Regions from separate parts of the Homo sapiens genome. Here all the other regions are linked to region 4. Evidence: promoter capture Hi-C in 16 types of primary human blood cells and fetal thymus (Javierre and others, 2016). All regions are on one chromosome and are shown on one strand. Each heading gives the region's core, a stretch centred on a gene start or on the middle of the fragment in contact. The rest is flanking DNA. Distances are from core to core; before and after follow the strand shown. Region 1 holds the start of LINC01124 (long intergenic non-protein coding RNA 1124). Region 2 holds the start of ERICH2-DT (ERICH2 divergent transcript). Region 3 overlaps GAD1 (glutamate decarboxylase 1). Region 4 holds the start of MYO3B-AS1 (MYO3B antisense RNA 1). Region 5 overlaps ERICH2 (glutamate rich 2). Region 6 overlaps UBR3 (ubiquitin protein ligase E3 component n-recognin 3).

What was found. Contacts are between HindIII fragments. The CHiCAGO score rates a contact against its expected background, and 5 or more counts as called.
Region 1: a contact is called between the fragment with the promoter of LINC01124 here and the fragment with the promoter of MYO3B-AS1 in region 4, in 2 of 17 cell types (endothelial precursors and erythroblasts). The highest score is 5.4, in endothelial precursors.
Region 2: a fragment that was not itself captured here is called in contact with the fragment with the promoter of MYO3B-AS1 in region 4 in 5 of 17 cell types (fetal thymus, naive CD4 T cells, total CD8 T cells and 2 more); the score reaches 6.9 in fetal thymus.
Region 3: a fragment that was not itself captured here is called in contact with the fragment with the promoter of MYO3B-AS1 in region 4 in 15 of 17 cell types (M1 macrophages, M2 macrophages, M0 macrophages and 12 more); the score reaches 12.1 in M1 macrophages.
Region 5: a contact is called between a fragment that was not itself captured here and the fragment with the promoter of MYO3B-AS1 in region 4, in 16 of 17 cell types (M2 macrophages, M1 macrophages, total CD4 T cells and 13 more). The highest score is 16.1, in M2 macrophages.
Region 6: a fragment that was not itself captured here is called in contact with the fragment with the promoter of MYO3B-AS1 in region 4 in 2 of 17 cell types (endothelial precursors and megakaryocytes); the score reaches 5.2 in endothelial precursors.

Annotation. Positions count from the first base shown.
Region 1 is chr2:170,713,046-170,716,096 of GRCh38, forward strand. LINC01124 (long intergenic non-protein coding RNA 1124) reads right to left here and starts at 1,522. Exons shown (of 1, transcript NR_027433.1): 1 at 1-1,522. It overlaps SP5 (Sp5 transcription factor), which reads left to right and starts at 2,292. Exons shown (of 2, transcript NM_001003845.3): 1 at 2,292-2,518. The coding sequence starts at 2,468. All of the region lies in intron 5 of ERICH2-DT (ERICH2 divergent transcript), which reads right to left. RefSeq lists a silencer at 1,609-1,658 and enhancers at 1,876-2,665, 2,666-3,051. The HindIII fragment of the contact is 7,273 bases long and covers 1-3,051 here.
Region 2 is chr2:170,770,673-170,773,949 of GRCh38, forward strand. ERICH2 (glutamate rich 2) reads left to right here. Exons shown (of 10, transcript NM_001290030.2): 1 at 1-515. The coding sequence starts at 10. It overlaps ERICH2-DT (ERICH2 divergent transcript), which reads right to left and starts at 94. Exons shown (of 6, transcript NR_110185.1): 1 at 30-94. RefSeq lists silencers at 284-343, 664-803. The HindIII fragment of the contact is 3,287 bases long and covers 1-2,894 here.
Region 3 is chr2:170,845,278-170,848,691 of GRCh38, forward strand. It overlaps GAD1 (glutamate decarboxylase 1), which reads left to right. Exons shown (of 17, transcript NM_000817.3): 8 at 229-344; 9 at 429-508; 10 at 732-786; 11 at 2,399-2,515. Among named protein-coding and RNA genes, the nearest start is that of GAD1-AS1, 28 kb to the left of the region's middle. The HindIII fragment of the contact is 845 bases long and covers 1,740-2,584 here.
Region 4 is chr2:170,348,895-170,352,195 of GRCh38, forward strand. MYO3B-AS1 (MYO3B antisense RNA 1) reads right to left here and starts at 2,049. Exons shown (of 4, transcript NR_110576.1): 1 at 1,985-2,049. The region is part of intron 8 of MYO3B (myosin IIIB); the gene reads left to right. The HindIII fragment of the contact is 2,320 bases long and covers 1,522-3,301 here.
Region 5 is chr2:170,791,737-170,794,924 of GRCh38, forward strand. It overlaps ERICH2 (glutamate rich 2), which reads left to right. Exons shown (of 10, transcript NM_001290030.2): 8 at 1,127-1,184. Among named protein-coding and RNA genes, the nearest start is that of ERICH2-DT, 23 kb to the left of the region's middle. The HindIII fragment of the contact is 5,215 bases long and covers 1-3,188 here.
Region 6 is chr2:169,928,175-169,931,700 of GRCh38, forward strand. UBR3 (ubiquitin protein ligase E3 component n-recognin 3) reads left to right here. Exons shown (of 39, transcript NM_172070.4): 18 at 553-694. Among named protein-coding and RNA genes, the nearest start is that of UBR3, 100 kb to the left of the region's middle. The HindIII fragment of the contact is 2,048 bases long and covers 793-2,840 here.

The DNA.
Region 1 (3,051 bases), core at 272-2,771, 360 kb after region 4:
CATCCTGCTTAGCCCGGCCCTGCCCGCCTCCCTGGGAAAGGGGACTTCGAAGATCTCAAAGAAGCTGGAAAGGAAACCAGCGCTAAGGAACCAGATCGCTTCGAGGGTGCAAGCATGTGCAGGCGCGAGTGTGTGCCAAGGGGCTCCCTGGCCTCCGACTTGCATCCAGGGAAGAGCTCCCTCGAGTCTCACGCTTCTCCAAGACTCAAATCCTGGACGGGAGCGTGGGAAGGAGCAGGTTGGCCAGGCCTCGGATGAAACCACTAAGCTCTCTCCCCTTCTCCGCTCCCAGAGCAGCCGACCTCATCTTCAGAAGCCAGATCGGGTCGGCCAAGTTGTGTGGTCGCCGCTCGCGTTTTAGAGGGGACAACTCGTTGGGGGAGAAGGGGGCGTGCGAGTGCAGGATGTGCGAGGGACCCATTGTATTTGGGTCGCAAGCAGCCCACCCGTCTTGAGTACGATATTCTCATTCCGCAGGCGCGCCCTGGGCGTGGGAGAAGGTGGGCCCGGAGGCATCGCATCCCCGACCCCTGATGGAAGTGCGGAGGGCATCCTTATACAGTCCAGATTCCGAGTCCGTTGTAGTTAGGCTAACCTCTGACGCTGCATCGGGAGATAGGTCACCCCGTCCGTCCCGGTCGCAGTGCGGTTCCCGTGAGGAAGACGGGCAGAGAGGCCGGGCGCGAACTGATTAGGGGCTCCCCCACGGCCGGCGGCCTGGAGAGTGGAGACTGTGTCCGACGGGAGGTGGGTGGGGGAGAGGAGTAGGCCGAGCTCCGGCGGCCACTCCGCAGTGCGCTCTCGCGAGCCGGGGCCGCGAGGCCTCCAACGCGGTTCCGCACCCCTAATGCCCCAGGGCGGTGAGCACCCCGCGGTTCCCCGCCCGCCTCTTCCTCCTTCCCCGCCCGCGCGCCCGGGAGAGGCGATCCCCGCGTCCGCAGTGCCGGGGCAGGACGCGCCCTGCGCCCTGGGCCAGGAGGAGGCAGGTGGCCCTCCTCGGCAGGAGGTGAGCCGCCAGGGAGGGATGGGGGTCACCCAAGCCCCTGCAAGCGCGACCCTGCCCAGAGCAAAGCACGCCCCGCGCCTGGTGAGGAACTTTTTCTTTCCAAAGGTGGCAGGAACAAGTCTGTACTGACTTTTCTCCCGCCTTCGGGATCCTCTCTCGTATGATTTGTGGTTTGTGGGACCACAACAACCAGGCTTCCTCGACCGCGCCTTTTTTCCAGTAGCTCCTGGTCTGCCAGGCTTGCGAGAGGGCGCGCTGGCTTGGCGGGGCTCCGGGCGAGAAATCACCAGCAGCGCTGGGGCTTTCGGCCCCCCACAGCCCAGCCCGGGCCTCCTGGGTGGCCTGGGGAGAAGGGGGCGGGACAGCACAGCTTCTTCCCCTCGGGTGGGCATGACGGGTCGCCTTGGGTGTCCTGCCGAGCTCAGCTTTGAGGGTATGCGCGGCGCGGGTGTTTTTCCCAGGTCCACTCTGCAAAAGTTGTGGCCTGAGGAAAACTTCCAGGTCGCCAGCAGGAACGTCACAGGAGAGCCCCGGTCGCTCGTCAGGCGGGCGGCCCTGGAGCGTGCGCGCCACCCAACGCCGCGCTGGGCGGCCGCCCGGCCCCGCCCCAGGTCACAGCCCTGCCCTCGGCCCCACCGCGGCGGGCGGGGGACACGCGGCGGGCCGGGCGCTGTCGGTCCCACGCCCCACCGGGGATCTCGCTTGGGTCCGCTGTGTGCGCGGGCGGGTGCGTGTGCGGCGAGGGTGCAGGGTGTGCAAGTAAATACAGGGGAGAGTTACACTCTTTGCCGTCTCAAAGTCCGGCGCCTGGAAGCCGAAGGCAGATTTTTCCAGAGATAACAAAGACACTTTGTCACTTTGGGCGCTGCGTCGGTGCAAATCTTTAATTGCAAGTGTGTGTGTGTGTGTGTGTGTGTATGTTGGGGGGGGCGGGAAGAGTGTCTCGAGCAACCCAAGCGCGGGTCTCCAGGCGGCAAGGCCCCCTTTGATCAGGAAAATCCAATTATTTGTGTATATACATTTCCCACATAGTGATTACTTCATTAATTGTCCCGCCTTTATCTCCTCCCTTCCCATCCCCCCTAATAATCAGTTCTTTTATCCAGACCAACAAACACACCATAGGAGCTTTGTGGATTCAAAGGATTTGCTTTCGCTTCTGAAAGAGCCGCTATTCTTTGATGATTGGGTAGCGGCAAACTTCAAAGCCATAAATCTTCCCTCTGACTGGCTGGCGGCCCAGCAAAGTCCTTATCAAATTCTTGGAGGTGATCCTGAAGCGCTCAGACCGCGCGCGGGGCGAGCGAGCGGGGCGCGGCGAGGGGCAAGGGCGGGGAGGGCCCCGGCGCTCAGAGCAGGCGCCAGGGAGGCAGGCTGGGCGGCCCTTCGTCCTCGCCTTCGGGTGTCCATGCCTCGGCGGCGGCGTCCCGCTCCGCAGCCAGGGGCCTGCAAGCCGTAGCCATGGCCGCGGTGGCCGTCCTCCGGAACGACTCGCTGCAGGCCTTTCTCCAGGTCAGGGCCGAGCCCGGAGGGGGCGGGAGAAAGGTGGAAAGGGCCGTGTCCGGATCTCTCCTGGTACTCCGTGCACCTTGAACCTCAAAGGGAACCCCGCCGATGGGTGCAGCTGGAGCCAGGCCTAGGGGTGCCCACGCCAACTTCACACCTAATCCGGTGTGGCCTTTGCTGGAGGGACGCGTGGATCCGGGATTGTTCGGAGGTGCCCGGCTGGCCGAGAACAGGACCGGAGCTCACCCTGCTGGGCCCTCCTGCTGATTTCAGCCTGGGGCGGGCCAGGGAGGAGCGCGAAGGCAGTGAGGACAAGAGAGCTTAAAAGATGGGAGGGAGAGCGGCCGGCCGGCGGGGTTGTGGGTGTTTCCCGACTCTTACTGACCACGGAGCCGGGAGGGGCCCGTCGGATGCCTCCCCCTCCCACTTCGCGCCTGCTTCCTCTAAGGCTGGATGGCGTCTCAGTGCACCAAGTAGTTTAGCAAGAAGCGCTCGCGGGCCCCACGTTCAGGTAGCGCAGGCACCAAAAGTTTCCCTCG
Region 2 (3,277 bases), core at 1-2,500, 420 kb after region 4:
GAATCAGGTATGGACACCGACATTCCAACCTTCTTTCCTTCTTCGGCGCTCCTGAAGGTAACCGGTGCGCGTGCGCACGTCAATCCGAGGGTGTGTGCGCCCAGTTTCCGGCGCCGCGGGACACCCACAACCGCGGGGCTGTCCCTCAGCTCGGCCGCCCGCCCCGCCCCGCCCCCCCGGACCCGCCTCCCAGCCCCGCCCCGGGCCCTCCTCGCCGCGCCCGCTCCGTCCCGCGCCCTCCACCGCCCTACGGCCTGGGCCCGCCTCCACCCTGCCTCTCCGTGGTTCCCCGGGCTGCCCCTGCCCCCGCCCCCGCCCCCGCCACCTCCCCCGCCGTCGCCCAATTCCCCCAGCCCCCACCCTCGGCTGCTGCCCGAGCTTCCTCCACGCGCCGTGCAGTCTCCACGGCGACGCTGCGTTCCCGACTCGGAGCCCCCAGCTCCGCGCGAGCAGCTAGCCGGGCTGGCTCTCGGTGTGTGCCCTTCGGATGGTCTGCTGAAGAGGGCCGCCAGCTGGTAAGACACTCCGAGGCAACGACCGGTCTCCCTCTCCCTAGCCCGGTGTGCAGTCTGACCCAGCCCCCACAGCAGACCACCCCCAGACCGGGCGCCCGAGTCTGCGGACCGCTCTACCGCACCTGGTTCTGGCTCTGGGCCCCGGGCCCCGTGGCTGCCAGGGGCCGCCGGGAAGGGAGGATGCGCGCCACTGGGGTGCGCCTGGCTTGCGGCACCCTCCTCCCGCAGTGGTCGGAAGAGGTGAGGAAGCGCCGTTCGTGTCTACACGGGTGTGGAGATAACTGGGCGATTCTGACAGGCTTGTCTACACTACCATTCTTTGACCGGCCGGTGCACACGCACCAACTCCTTCCCCGCAAATAACGAAGATGGCCCAGCCCATCCCAGGGCTTCCCGACCCCCTTCCCTCAGTCCTTGCCCTTGCCCGGAATTCTTTTACTTATTTTTGGAAAATTAGTTAAGACATCACTACTAGCTAGATATAACTTGCTAGCCATACAAATTTCGATGGAATTTGGACAAATCATTTATATTCCCGGGCCTTATTCTCATCTTATGAGATGATGAAATTGACTTGAAACTTCCAAAATGTTGATATTGTTCTTTTGACTACTCAAACTACTCTACACTGAGCCCCTGTGGCATTTAAAGTAACACATGGTATAATGATCAATTTATTGTTTGGCATAGGTGTCTTGGCTGAATCTTATTTTTACCCTAGGAGAACCCCTGGAAGTCGCTTTTTAAAAATCTGAAAAGGACACCGGAAATGTCTTTTAATATGTTTCATTTTTCTAAAAACCAAATACAATGATCCCCAAATCCAACTTATTTTTTAATTTTTATTTTGTTTTTTGTGAATTGAAATAGTTTTGGTTTTTGTAATCTCTGGAGAACAATAATAACAATAACATTTCTCTTTACGTGTTAAGAGTTTTCCAGAGCTGAAATTCCAGCATCTCTAGGTATTTCATTGCACCCACTCCAGAATTCCAGAGCTTTCTACCTACGCTCACCGGTTGAGCCACATCCTCAGTGTTTTCTCCCTTCTTTGCCCCATCCAGTTTCGGCGTTTAGAACTGGCTTCATTTGTGACAGTTCACCTTCAGGACTGGCCTCCCTGAGCTGTAAATATTAACAATAGTATAGGAGGAGGAGTTATAGTAACTGCAGTTCTGGCAGGAGATGAGTGCTACTATTATTATTTATTGGTAGCTAATTATTTTAACCTTTGCAATTTAACTCTATAAGGTAGGTGGTGTTTTTATCCACACTTTACAGTTGAGGAACTGAATCACAGAGAGGTTAAGGAATTTGCTCAAGGTCACACAGTTTACTGGGATTTAAACATAGACAACCTGACTCCAGAGTCTGGAATCCTAGCACTATATTACACTGTAAAGGAAATATATAAAATTTATATTTAGTCAGTTTAAAAAATGAATGTAAGTGATGGATGATCCTTGACACCATTTGTATACACATTTGAAGCTATGCCATGAAATATTGTTCCTGCATCATGTAATGTTTCCCCCACCAAGCTCCCTGAGGATAGAGGATAGTGCTTAATCAGCTCTGTCTCTCCTTCTCACCAGAGTTGCAGGGCTTGAGTGTGTAGCTAGCTAGCTATTTATTCATTCTGTCTTTGCCTATTAGACTACAAGGTAGCTTATAAAAACCAGTAGCACAAAACAGTAAAATAATTGCATAAGTGGGATGAAGAAAAACATGTAATGTCTTCCAATATTACAAGAGAAATCTAAAATAAAAATTTTTTGAAATCTGAATTTTAAATGTTGGTAATTCATTTTATAAAAGGTGTTTTTGTTTTTTTGTTTTGTTTTGTTTTTCCTGAAGTCTGTGGAGTGTGGAGTCCAAATAATACCAACTGGGGAGGTTCAGAATCTTGTGGCCTCTGGTTGCATGACTCCTAAACTACAATTTCTGAATCTCGTGGCTAATTTGTTAATCCTGTAAAGGCAGTCTGGTCCCCAGGCAAGAAGAGGGTTTGCTTTGGGAAAGGGTGGTTATCATCTTTGTTTCAGTGTTAACTGTAAACTGATTTCTTCCCAAAGTTAGTTTAGCCTATACCTAGGAAAGAACAAGGGCAGCTAGGAGGTTAGAAGCAAGATGGCATCAGTTAAGTCAGATCTGTGTCACTGTCATAATTTTCTCACTGTTATAATCTTTGCAAAGGCAATTTCACCTCTGTCCTTCCAGTTCTGCCTCCACTGCCTGCTGACTTCCTTAGGTATCTCCAGTCCTTGAGCCCAAAAGAAAGAATTTGATTGGTCCTGGTAATCACTATTCCTCAGTTTGGGCAGTATGGGAAATTACATTGTAGCCCCTTAAAGGGAAGCATTTGTTATAGTATTTTGAAGCTTGCTCTGTGACATACATATAAGAAGTTAGTACCCGTTTCACCTATAAGATTCTGAACTTCTCAAAGTAGAGTATCTTCATCTTTGTGTCCCCAGAGTTTAGCATAGTTATATGTGACATGTAGTAGGTGCTCATCAAATGTCTGGTATTGTATTATTATTGTCTTTTTTTTTAGAGACAGAGTCCCACTCTCTTGCCCAGGCTGGAGTACAGTGGCACAATCATAGCTCATTGTAACCTCAAGCTCCTGGGCTCAAGCCATCCTCCTACCTCAGCCTCTTGAGTAGCTGAGACTACAGGCATACACCACCATGCCTGGCTAATTAATTTTTTATAGAGGCAGAGTTTTGCTGTGTTCCCCAGGCTGGTGTCGACCTCCC
Region 3 (3,414 bases), core at 912-3,411, 500 kb after region 4:
CCAGCCAAATTGCCTAGATAGCTTTGGTAATAAGTGTGACTACTTGTATTCCCAGGGTAAAGGGTCCAGTGGGAAGCCCCAGCAATAGGGAAGCCAGCAAAACCTATCAGGATATTATCCTTTCGCTTCCTGACCTCCCTTGTCTCTTGAGACACCAGCTCAGCGTTCGTTTTTAGAAACAATAATCAAAGAGCCCCAACACCTCCCAATATGTCCGCTTGCTGACAGGGGGCGCCATATCCAACATGTACAGCATCATGGCTGCTCGCTACAAGTACTTCCCGGAAGTTAAGACAAAGGGCATGGCGGCTGTGCCTAAACTGGTCCTCTTCACCTCAGAACAGGTGAGTCGGGGATGCTTTCTCATGGATAGTGGTGTTTTTTAGGGGACTTTCCAACTTCTAACCTCGAGCCTCTGTTTGTTGCAGAGTCACTATTCCATAAAGAAAGCTGGGGCTGCACTTGGCTTTGGAACTGACAATGTGATTTTGATAAAGTGCAATGAAAGGTAGGCAGGGGAGGGTGAATATTAGGTTCTTGATGTATTAAATGTGTTCATCTGTTAAATTTGTTTTATTGTGCTTAAGGACTGGCTCAGTACATTGTGCCAAGCTGCTAATGGTCTGTTGAAAATATCCGATTAAATTGCTTTTTGCTGCTGCTAAAGTTTTTTTCATGTGCAATCTCATTGACTCTTCATTTTAATTTCCCTCCTTTTCCAATAATTATAGGGGGAAAATAATTCCAGCTGATTTTGAGGCAAAAATTCTTGAAGCCAAACAGAAGGTATGTACTCCGTGGTGCATCTGAACTCCAGTTTTAAAATACCTTCTTTCTGTCCTAGACAAAAACAGTCCTTGATAATATGAGACAATTTTCTTGTGCTTCTAAAATTCTATTCTTCAAATTTGCTTATTTCCAACTAGTAAAATAATTTGGTTTTAAAGCTGTGTCTACACAATATCAGGGTTTTTTTAAAAAATGAAAAATTTGGTCATTAAACTATTTGTCCTATCTTCATTGTGCCAAGTGATTGGTTTGATGTTCTTCAATAAATCAAATCCCTGAGCATCATGAAGATATAGCCTAATTGAACTTTTTATTTACTACTTGTTGGGTATTATCTCATTTTAACAGATGCCATTTTAGCTTAGGATTCTGTTTAGCAAAGTGCTTCCATGCCCTGGCAGATGGCCCATGGTACTTGGCACATCCAGCCTCAACAAACTCTATTAAACAAAAAAACTCACAGAACAGATGTATCCACAAGTCAGTGCCAGGTAGCTGTCAGGCCACTTACCAACACATGGTTGTTTCAGTTACATTCTTATACCTCCTTCTCTAATTGTAGTTATTTGCTGGGGTCTTGGCACAGGAAGTGGATCTAAGTGTTGTAAAGACTGAGCAAGGAGCAGAGGTGGAGCTGAGCTTCACAAAAGCCTAAGAGGCAGGGCATGGGGGCTCGCACCTGTAATCCCAGCACTTTGGGAGGCTGAGGCAGGAGGATCCCTTGAGCCCAGGAATTCAAGACCAGCCTGGGCAACATAGGGTAACCCACATCTCTGTAAAAAATTTTAAAAAATAGCCAGGTGTGGTGGTGCACGCCTATAGTCCCAGCCACTCAGGTGAGGTAGGAGGATTACTTGAGTTGGAGAGGTAGAGGCTGAAGTGAGCCATGATCGTGCCAATGCACTCCAGCCTAGGTGACAGAGCAAGAACCTGTCTCAGAAAAAAAGAAAAGCTTAAGATTCACAGATTTCCCCAAACTTGTCTTAGATCTATTACTCTACTCCTTCGTTTATTTTTTGTTTATGTCAACATTTAACCACGTCCACTGTTAGTGAGTGTATCAGCTTTCACAGTGTATAGACCTTTTTTAAATAATTGAACCCCACAATGTTTCAGTATAATTATTATATCAATACACTTAAAACAACACAGCCTCTTAAAAGAATGATGCACAGGTGATATTCAGAACTATCTGACCATCATTCCAAACACTTATTATTACTCTTTCCTGCTTTATTTTTTGCCATAGAAATTATTGCTATTAAACATACTGTATATTTTGCTTATTTAATTTAGCTTATTATCTGTCACCTGCCACTAAAATGTAAACTCCGCAATGACAGAATTCTTTATCTGTTGTGCTCACTGCTGAGTCCCTAGCATCTATGGCAGGGCCTGGCACATAAAAGGCAATCAAAAAATGTTTGTTGAATAAATGAATGAATGAGTGAATGAGCCAACAAAACACTACTAGACATAGTATCTGGTAATACATAAGTTTTGCCATTTACTGTTAGAAATAAATGTTACACAATTCTTCTTCCTGTGAAAATCAGCAAATGAGAAAGGTTAAAAATACTCATCAGCCTATATCTGTCTTACCTTGTAGGGATATGTTCCCTTTTATGTCAATGCAACTGCTGGCACGACTGTTTATGGAGCTTTTGATCCGATACAAGAGATTGCAGATATATGTGAGAAATATAACCTTTGGTTGCATGTCGATGTAAGTGCTATATAACTCAGGCCAGTCCATGTGGGGGGTGGAGGCACCTCTTTTTTATGACTTGCCTCAAGCTTCTCCCCACGCCCCAGCCAGCCCTCTCTCCACACCACATTAGTTCCAGTTCTTGTCTGGACCCTAGCCAGCCATTCACAACTGGTACACACCACAGACCTGGAACATCCTCTGGGACTCATCCACTTCCTTACTAGTCGATTGCTGTCTTCTGTGGTTCATCCTAGAATATGGTCTCATTGCCTTCCCAGGTAGCTTTGTTGGGACAAGTGGCTACAGAATAAAATATAACTGATTTCAGAGGGAAAAAATAGAAGACACAACATACAGAAAGTGGCCATGAATGTGAACCCTCAGCTACCTGCCTTCAGTCCAGCCGTCTATGACACGTCTCTTAAAAAGGTTATATCTGGCTGGGCGCGGTGGCTCACGCTTGTAATGCCAGCACTTTGGGCGGCCAAGGCAGGTGGATCACCTGAGGTCAGGAGTTTGAGACCAGCCTTGCCAACATGGTGAAACCCCGTCTCTACTAAAAATACAAAAATTAGCTGGGTGTGGTGGCATGTGCCTATAATCCCAGCTACTCTGGAGGCTGAGACAGGAGAATCACTTGAACCTAGGGATGGAGGTTGCAGTGAGCTGGGATCACGCCACATCACTCCAGCCTGGGCAAAAGAGCAAAACTCTGTCTCAAAAAAAAAAAAAAAAGAAAAAAGAAAAAGAATATCTGCTACATTTAGGAAAAATAAGGCAGTATACGGAAGGCATTATCAACTAAGAGACTTAATCCCAAATCTTCCCAGGAACACAAAAGATGCATTTTCACATGTGTGACTGGGTGTATTTTTTTTTTTCTTTCTCTCTGCCCATTTTCTTAGGGATTTAAC
Region 4 (3,301 bases), core at 799-3,298:
TATAGGGGCCAAGTGTTTCTGGGTGATGATTCAGATCTCTGCTCCAACTAGAGCAGCAGCTTTCATAATACTCTCCCTGGATCTCATCACAAATTATCCTGCACAAAACAGTCAGTGTGATCTTTCTGAATCCCTAAACTGATCAAGTCATGCCCTACTCATAATTATTCTGTGTCTTCCCAGTGCTTACAGGGTGCACTAAAACTCTGTAACACACAAGGTCATGAAGGATCTGCCCCTTTCTATGTAATACCATTCTCTCCTCCAAACTCCCTGCACATTCTAGAAAAATTGAACAAGTGATGCTTCCCCTGACTTCCCCAGGAGGACTCAGAGGCCCCTTCCTTCATGCTTTTATGTCAGCGTTGTGCCTTTTACAGAACTTTATAATAATGGGGAGAGAGGGAGCATGTCAAGCCATCCTGGAATTATTTGTTTCTACGTCTGTCTCCCCACTCAAACTGTAAATTCCTTGAGAGCAGAGAATGTATCTTTACTGCTTCATATCCCCAATACCTAGCACAGTTCCTAGAACATGGCAGGAACTCAGTAAATATCCATTCCTTTTGAAGAACCACGAATTCTTTAGAGGAAGTGATACTCTTAAAATTATGCACCTCATGGCCGGGTGTGGTGGCTCATGCCTATAATCTCAGCACTTTGGGAGGCCGAGGTGGGTGGATCACTTGAGGTCAGGAGTTTGAGACCAGCCTGGCCAACATGGTGAAACCCTGTCTTTACTAAAAATGCAAAAATTAGCCGGGCATGGTAGTGGGCACCTGTAATCCCAGCTACTTGGGAGGCTGAGGCAGGAGATCACTGGAATCTGGGAGGTGGATGTTGCAGTGAGCTGAGATTGCACCACTGCACTCCAGCCTGAGCGATGGAATGAGACCCTGTCTCAAAAAAAAAAAAAAAAGAAAGAAAGAAAAAAATTATGCACCTCATATAATGGACCTAGATAGAAGTTGGATGTTAGAACTCATGATCTTTGGACAGTCTCTCCAAACGACAAACATAATGATAAGGAAGAGAATAAGGGGTGGCAAAAGTGGTCAGATACACCTTCCTCTCTCAATATACACACAGTATCCCAGAACACAACTGAACATTTTTTTTTCCTTTGAGATAGTGTCTTGCTCTGTTGCCCAGGCTGGATTGCAGTGGCGCGATCTCGGCTCATTGCAATCTCAACCTCCCAGGGTGAAGCAATCCTCTTCCCTCAGCCTCCCAAGTAGCTGGGATTACAGGCACGTGCACACCCAGCTAATTTTCTGTATGTTTAGTAGAGACTGGGTTTTGCCATGTTGCCCAGGCTGATCTCCAACTTGTGGGCTCAAGTGATCTGCCCGCCTCGACCTCCCAAAAACCGAAATTTTAACTGTAAGAAGAAACATGATAGGATTGTTAAATTGATAGCTACGTGGTTAGCTGTGGATTCTTTTTTGATTGCCTTAAATACATGAAAAGAATGTCAGAATGAATCCTTCATGGCAATCTCAGTGGTTATTCCTCTCCAAAAGCTTCTGCCCATTCCTTTTCATCTCTGCCTTCCCTTATTTCTCACCACCAGCTCCTTTATCACGTGGTTTAGAATTCCACAGAAAGATTGAAGAGAAGCCACTTCTGAACTCTGGATTATAAGAAACATCACCATTTGAAGGCTGCCTTAGGGAACTATGCAGAGATGATGGGTAAAAATCGAGATGTGGAAAAGTTCAAGGCCTGTGAATGCAACTTTACTTCCTCACTGTAAAATAAAATTAGGTTAAAATCAAGGTGTTGGCAGGGGGAAAAAAGATTAGGGGCACGTCTCACAGATGTTAATTTTGGCCACGTACCTTAATGTCTTAATACATTAATATGATACATACATTAATAGCTTAATAGCTTCACACTAATAGATCTTACTAAAGAAAAATGATTTAGGATGGTAGTAAGCAGAAGAAATGATTGGATAAATTTGAATTTGAAGGATTTTTGCCTTTAGATGTTTCCGTGGAAGATATTTTCTGTAAAGGTGATGCCTTAGGTTTATACTTTTCCAAACACAGGATATTGCTAGGCCACATATATAAAGAAAAGGCCAAAAACATATTAAGAAGGAAGGAAGGGAGAAAAGAAAAAAGGGAGGAAGGAAGAAGGAAGGCAGGAAGGAAGGGAAGGCAGGGAGGGAGGAAGGCAGGAAGGAAGGAAGTTAGTTATATTCAGAATGTTCATTGTGATGGATGAGAATGGAATGCTCATGAAGTGCTCAGCTGGGCTGAAGTCACAGGTCCGCAGGTATCAAGAGCAGTGGTGACTCCTGTGAGTAAAAAGACTAACAGGGCTCCAAACAAGATAGGATTCAGAGTTGAGACTCCTACTTGAAGCCAGTAAATGAGGTGGTTCATTTAGGCTGATAAAAAGCGTCTGGGAAAAAGAATGGGGTAGGGGAGAGGTTATGTGATCCTGTGCTCTAACTGTAGCAATTTCTTCCACATATTCTCCATCGTCTGGGGTGATGCTGACCATCACCCAGGACTATGACTTTTAGCCACCTTCTGGCTGAGGATGGTAGAAGGATATATAAGCAGCCAGGCCTGTGGCTGCCACAGTCATAGGCTCTTCCATATGCCCAATAAGACCATGGGACAGCAGCACAAAATGCCATTCTACAACCTGGCTCTGGGCTAGAGACCCAGAGAGCCAAGCAGACATAACCATAACATTACTAGAATAGGAGGGTGGGCAAAGGGGAAGTGAGAGGGAGAGAGAAAACAAAATCCTCTTCCTCCTCACCCTTTCAGTGAGCCTGCCAACTGAAATTTCAGAACACCTGAATAAACCTAAAGCTGAGGAAGACAACCCACCAAAACAACAAATGAAGCATAAATTCGTTTGAAATGAAACTAAATTCATGGAATAGTCTGAAGGATTAATGTAGATAACTACTAACTGTAAGAAGGAAAACAATTTGGGATAAAATACGTAAAAACTAACTCTAATCATACAGTTGGGGCAGGGACAGCATCCAGTGTGTGATTTAGGCATGCACAAGTTGTTTTTCTTTGTTTGGTTTTTTGTTGTTGTTTTTGAGATGGAGTCTCGCTCCGTCGCCCAGGCTAGAGTGCAGTGGCATGATCTCGGCTCACTGCAACCTCCGCCTCCCAGGTTCAAGCGATCCTCTTGCCTCAGCCTCCTGAGTAGCTGGGGTTGCAGGTGCATGCCACAACACCTGGCTGATTTTTGTATTTTTAGTAGAGACGGGGTTTCACCGTGTTGGCCAGACTGGTCTCGAACTCCTGACCTCAGGTGACCC
Region 5 (3,188 bases), core at 517-3,016, 440 kb after region 4:
TAATTAGTATGTGAATGAGAATTTTGATGAAATTAATGACTTATAGAAAAATCTCCGGAAGAGTTATATTTACATTAGAAATAAAATTTTTTTTAACCCATGGGAGAAATTGAGAAAACTGGTAGAGAACTACTTCTGAAAACAGTGTCTGGGTATTTATCAAATATCTGGAAGTATATGAGAAGGGTCTCTTTCATATTACTATATGCCTCTGTCTCTTACAGAATAAAACTCATATACCTGCATGTGGTTCAGAATGTGTCACACACAAGCAAGAACAATCATCAAAGTATAGGGGATTTTTTTGTGCATTTTTTTAATGGAAGCAGTCTAAATAGCTATAATAGAAGATTAGTTTAGTAAATTGTAGCCTAAGTAAGTAAAAAATACGTAAGAATATTTCATGCCATGAGGAGAAAATGATCACAATCCATGGTTTATTTTTTTTAAGTTACTAAATAATCTTAAATGTTGTAAATGCATATGTGTTAATTTATGGAAAATAATACTTGAAAGAATATACATGAAGATGTTAAAAATAAATGTGTTTATTTTTCATAGATGGTAGAAATTAAGTGCTTCTTAATTGGGGACAGAATGTGTGTATTTAGCTTTTAAATTTCCTACATAAAAAAAGATGTATTATTTTGTAACAAGAAAAGTATAATAAAAATAATAAAAACAAAACTGGATGATATAAGAGCAATGCTGGAAAATATCAAATGTACATTTTGTAAATCTGCATTTTTTTCAACTGTCGTATAATTATGGACTAAGTTACAAATGAAACCTGTATCTGAACCAAAGGAATATTAAAATAAAGTGATTAATGTCTTCACTATCTGTGCCAGTTGAATCAACCTACATATTCTCAAATTGTTCAGTAGTACATACACAGTATGGCTGCAGGAAAGCAGAGGTATCATCCTTACCCCATGTGGCTTTGCCATCAGAGGTACTTCAATTTCCTTGATTAATTGATTCACTATTCATTATAGACTGACTCCTGGAAAAACATGTGGAAGTGTTAAAAGCAAAATAACTAATGATTAATGGAAGATTTTCTAGGGAGTTTAGAGTTGACAACATTTAAATTCACTTATCTGAAGAATTTAATGTTTTCCAGTTTCTGAGAGCAGAAATGGCCCGAGAGTACCAGCTGGCAAAAAAATTATGTCAGATGAGTAAGTACAAAATACTTTCATATTTTCTAATCTTCTCTTTGTTTTCAAAAATGAATTCCGTAATATATAAAATGGCTTGATTATCATAGGTCTAGTGAATTCCCTGATAGTGTCTCAGTGATTCCTTGATAATAAATTAGGTTGATTGGTATAAGTACTAATTTAGATCTCTAGAGTACATTTTAGTGGAATAAATTAATGTAAACTAGCATCGGCTAATTACCATCACTGGAAAATAAGTCAAAAATTTTACCCTCATGATGATGGGTTAGTAACTTTATACCTTTAGTTTCAAAGAAGTGTCAGGTGACACAGCAGTCAAACCTTAACTGAGCATGCATTTATCCCACAAACATTGAGTGCCTACACATGCCAGCCACTGTTCCAGGCACTGGAAATACAATAGTCAGTCAGACAGATGACAATCCCACATTTGTGTCTAGTGTTAGAAAGACAATAAACAGATAGTGTGTCATGAATGATAGGTGCCATGGTGAGAAATAAAGTAGGGAAGAAGGAATAGAAGGTACTGGAGGAAGGCAAAGCAGTTTTAAATAGGATGGCCCAGGAAGGCCTCACTGAAAGACTTGAGGAATAGCCACATGAATATCTGGAGGCAGAGTGTGCCAGGGAGGATGAATGGCAAATGTGCTATGACAGGAGTGTGCCTGAAAGGAATAGTGAGGAGGACAGTGTAACTGGAGCAGAATGAGCATGGAGAAGTGTGATAGGAAATGAAGTCAGAGGCGTCATAGGCAAGGGGTTGTCAGATTGCATAGGCTCTGTTCTTTCCCTGAGGTGGGAAAACCACTGGAGGCTTTTGAGTAGAGCAATGATATGATCTACCTTATTTTTCTTTTTATCTTTGGTTTTTAATGGTTTGACTTGATGTTCAAAATAGTTGTGGGTTTTTTGTTGCAGTTGTACTGTTCAGGGCATTTGCTGAGTTTCTTAACTCTGTGGGTTGATGTTTCTATCAGCTTTGAAAATTTTTTGGCCATTACCTTTTCAAATACCACTTCTAGTCTATCCTCTCTCTTCTCTTCCTGGGTCTCCAATTACACACAAATTAGACTTTTTTTTCATGATGTCCCATGTGTATCTTATACTCAGCTCTAGTGTGTTTTGTTTTCCTTCCTTTCTTTCTTTCTTTCCTTCCTTCCTTCCTTCTCTTTCCTTTCTTTCTTTTTTTTTTTTTTTTTTTTTGACAGGTTCTTGCTCTGTCACCGAGGCTAGAGTACAGTGGTGCAATCTCCGCTCACTGCAACCTCTGCCTCCTGAGTTCAAGTGATTCTTATGCTTCAGCCTCATAAGCAGCTGGGATTACAGGCTTGTGCCACCATGCCTGGCTAATTTTTGTATTTTTAGTAGAGATGGGGGTTTTACCATGTTGGCCAGGCTGGTCTCGAACTCTTGGCCTCAAGTGATTCTCCTGCCTCAGCCTCCCAAAGTGCTGGGATTACAGGGTGAGCCATAGCACCTGGCTCTCTTTCTTTTATTTCTATGTGTCAGTTTTAATATTTTCTATCTACCTGTTTTTGGTTTCTTTATTCTATCTTCTGCTGTATCCAATATGCTGTTAAAACTATTTAGTGAGTCCAAGGTTGTCTTTTCCAATTTTAGAATTTCCATTTAATGATCTGGAAAGATTCTGGTTCTTTGTTGAACTCTATCATCTTTTCAACTATTTTATGCATCTTTTTCTTCTAACATATTAGTGATAATACGTTAAAAAAGAGAAAATAGCAACTCTACAATTAAACTTGTTGACAACAAGACTCAAAATATTAAGCAGTGTTAAACTTAAATTCATTCTTACAGTAAAGTCCTTAAGTGAAAATGTAGCACAAGGATTGAGTGACGGTCTGCCCTGGCTTGCCTCACAAGAGTCCCAACTGTGGATAGAGTACTTCTAGATCATTGGCTCATTTTACAAATTGGTTTCTTGAATACTTCAACACTTCCTATCTTGTATCTGAGGTAAATAATCCTTTCAAGCACTTT
Region 6 (3,526 bases), core at 567-3,066, 420 kb before region 4:
AGTGCTATTATAGAGTAAAAACGATCTCTGTGTCTTTCAATTTTAAAGATTTATGTGCTTTAATGTGAGGAGAGAATCTTTTTGGTTTGCCTCTTTGCTTATATTTGCTTAGTATTTTTTTCTTTGGGGATGAAATTTTGTGTTTTTGGAAAAACAATCTTTGCTCATAAAAATCTTGGCTAATTTTTCACAAGTTCTTTCTGTTTTTTAAGGAAAAGTTATTTACAAAATGGTAAAAATGAAGACACATTTTTAAAAGTTTTTCTATCGTTTTCTGAAATTTGATAAATTTATTTCGGGGAAAATATACCTGGGAACTACTGCAGCATACAATTTATTAGTAGGCTCCTAGATTAAACATATTTTCAAAAATCACAATTAAAAACAGTTATTATTGATCTGTTGTATTATATAGCCCTCTTGTGGCCAGCTTTGTATATTACAACCAATTACTATTTGTCTACTTCAGCAAAATGAGAAACTAGAGTACCTTGGAAAGGCTATAAATCTGGCTTTTTGTTACTAATATTTTTTTCTTGACATATATATCATATTCCAGAAAATCCTAATCCCAAAAGTGGCATTATTCCAGGCAGTTACAGCTTTGAATCAGTTTTATCAGCTGTAGCTGATTTTAAGGCTCCTGTTTTTGAACCTGGAGGTTCTATGCAACAAGGCATGTATACTCCCAAAGGTATGTTTATATACATAAATGGACTCTTTCAAATATCAGTTCTTGAATGGTGAATTCTTCTGTGTATTAAAAGAAAATGTTTACCTTTTATTCGTTCAAGCTTTGGTTTTCTTTTCTCCATTTTGTTATAAATGTATGTCTTTATTGGTAAACAGTGATACTGCTTTCAATTACTTAGAAATCTATAGCTTTATGTTACACTAAGACTTCTTAGATGACTCTAAACTATAAAGGAAATTTATATTTGAACTCTAATTCATTTTTATAAGTGATCATAACCATAAATGAACCAGAAACTATAAAACAAAATGTATATTAAAAAATATTTTGAATGTATTTACTCTCCAAATTTGATTTTGAAACAGCAAAAGAATCCTCACGACCCAAATTTTAACTTGAAATAGTTCAAATTAAAGTCTGTATAGGCCGGGTGTGGTGGCTTATGCCTGTAATCCCAGCACTTTGGGAGGCCGAGGTGGCTGGATCACCTGAGGTCAGGAGTTCGAGACCATCCTGGCCAACATGATGAAACCCGTCTCTATTAAAAATGCAAAAAAATTAGTCAGGCATGGTGGCAGGTGCCTGTAATCCCAGCTACTCGGGAGGCTGAGGCAGGAGAATCACTTGAACCCAGGAGGTGGAGGTTATAGTGAGACCCTATCGTGGCCACTGCACTCCAGCCTAGGCAACAAGAGTGAAACTCCATCTCAAAAAAAAAAAGTCCACATAGAATGCTGATAGCACTTACTTACATTTTGAACCTATGTTAAATGCACAGAACGTTTTCCTTAAGTGGATGATTGGTTTTGGAAGGTTTCTCCCGCATAGATTCATAGTTGACATCCTTGACAGCAGCCAGAAGTAAGTGAGGTTTTGATTTACACAGTCTTTTTTTGTTTGACTTTCATATTTTCACTTCTCTAAGTGAAAATTTTGAAGGAAGTAGCAGTTACGTGCTTCTTGACTCCCTCAACACGTTGTCTAAATGAAAAACCAATGCCCATTTTGAAGTTGTAAATAATATACACTGTACTGTGTGTGTTTGGCAAAGCAGAACAGAAAAGCCTTATTTGGGATTTTTCAGGGAGTTCACAAGGAGCAAGAAAATCCAGTCTCTGGTTGGAAAGTATTCCATTAAAAGAAAAGCACAGTATTTTTTTAGTGTAGAGGATATTTTGTGTGTAAAATTAGATGAATTTGGGAGTGGAGTGGTGCTGTGGTGTAGTGCAGTGCTTATAAAAGTGTGATGTGACGATTACATCTCTGTCAGACTCACTTGCGCTCCTCATTAAGAATGCAGGCCCCTGTGTCTCACCTCCTATCTGCTATCATCAGAATCTCTGTGGGTGAAATCTGGGAATCTGCTTTTTAAAACAAGCTGTTTAGATGACTGTTCTGAACAATGCTGAGATGGAATACTGGGCATTCGGAGATTAGAGCAAGGAAATTGAGTGTCATATTTAAATACCATATGAATTATATTTGCTAGTTGTGTGGTTTAGGAAATTAGTTGTTTTTTTTTTTGTTATTTTTTTGGAGACAGAGCCTCACTTTGTCGCTCAGGCTGGAGTGCAGTGGCGCCATCATAGCTCACTGCACCCTTGACCTACTGGGCTCAAGTGGTCCTGCCACCTCAGCTTCCCCAGTAGCTGGGACCATAGACACCCACCACCATGCTGGCTAATTTTCATGTGTTTTGTAGAGACAGGGCCTTGCTGTGTTGCCCAGGCTGGTCTCGACTGTTGGGCTTAAGCAATCCTCCTGCCTCAGCCTCCTAAAGTGCTGGGATTGCAGGTGTGAACCGCCATGCCTAGCCAGTTTTTTTATCTTTGGATTTGGCTTCTTATCTGTAAAATAAGTTTTTAAACTTTTAAAAGTGGTTGAAACAAGCCTCTGGTTTCGGGGACTAAGCCTTAAGTGAATTTGTCATATTAATATAAAACCAACAAAAGCTGGCTTACTCCTGTTAAAGTGGGTGTGGGTAGTGAACCTAGCTTCTTCTCTGTCCTGCTATCTACTTGCTCCTAAAGTGGCCCCTGTTATACATCTGTGGTAATTCAGCTCCATGGAACACTGTTTGAAGCCCACTGGACTAATTAATCACTGAAGTTTTCTTCCATTGCTAAGGTTGTGCAATTCTGATAAAAGCTTTGGCATGTTAATTATGCAAAATAATAGACTTTAAAGAGAAGGACGATCAAGGCCGGGCGCAGTGGCTCACGCCTGTAATCCCAGCACTTTGGGAGGCCAAGGTGGGTGGATCACGAGGTCAGGAGATTGAGACCATCCTGGCTAACATGGTGAAACCCTGTCTCTACTAAAAATACAAAAAATTAGCCGGGCTTGGTGGCGGGCACCTGTAGTCCCAGCAACTCAGGAGGCTGAGGCAGGAGAATGGCGTGAACCTGGGAGGCGGAGCTTGCAGTGAGCCGAGATCGCGCCACTGTACTCCAGCCTGGGTGACAGAGCGAGAATCTGTCTTAAAAAAAAAAAAAAAAAAAAAAAGGACGATAAATGATTCTAGAAATACTAATAAAGATCTTTGTGAAGGACTGTCTTCAGAATTTTAAGTCATACTTCTGATACTTTAAGATGAATAGCTTGTTACATGAAACTAGGGACAGTGGTTAACAATGGTTAACAGTGTCTTGTGCTAGAAGGTTGTAATTATAGTGGATGGTTAGGGAGAAGCTTAAGCTTCTTACCATGTTTTCAAATGTTAAGAATTTTGCTAGAGAGAATGAGAGAAAAAAATCTATTAAGGAGATACTCTTAAGGCGGTGGTTTCTAAAATTATTATCTCAGTTTATCCTTTAGATTTTTGCCACATCT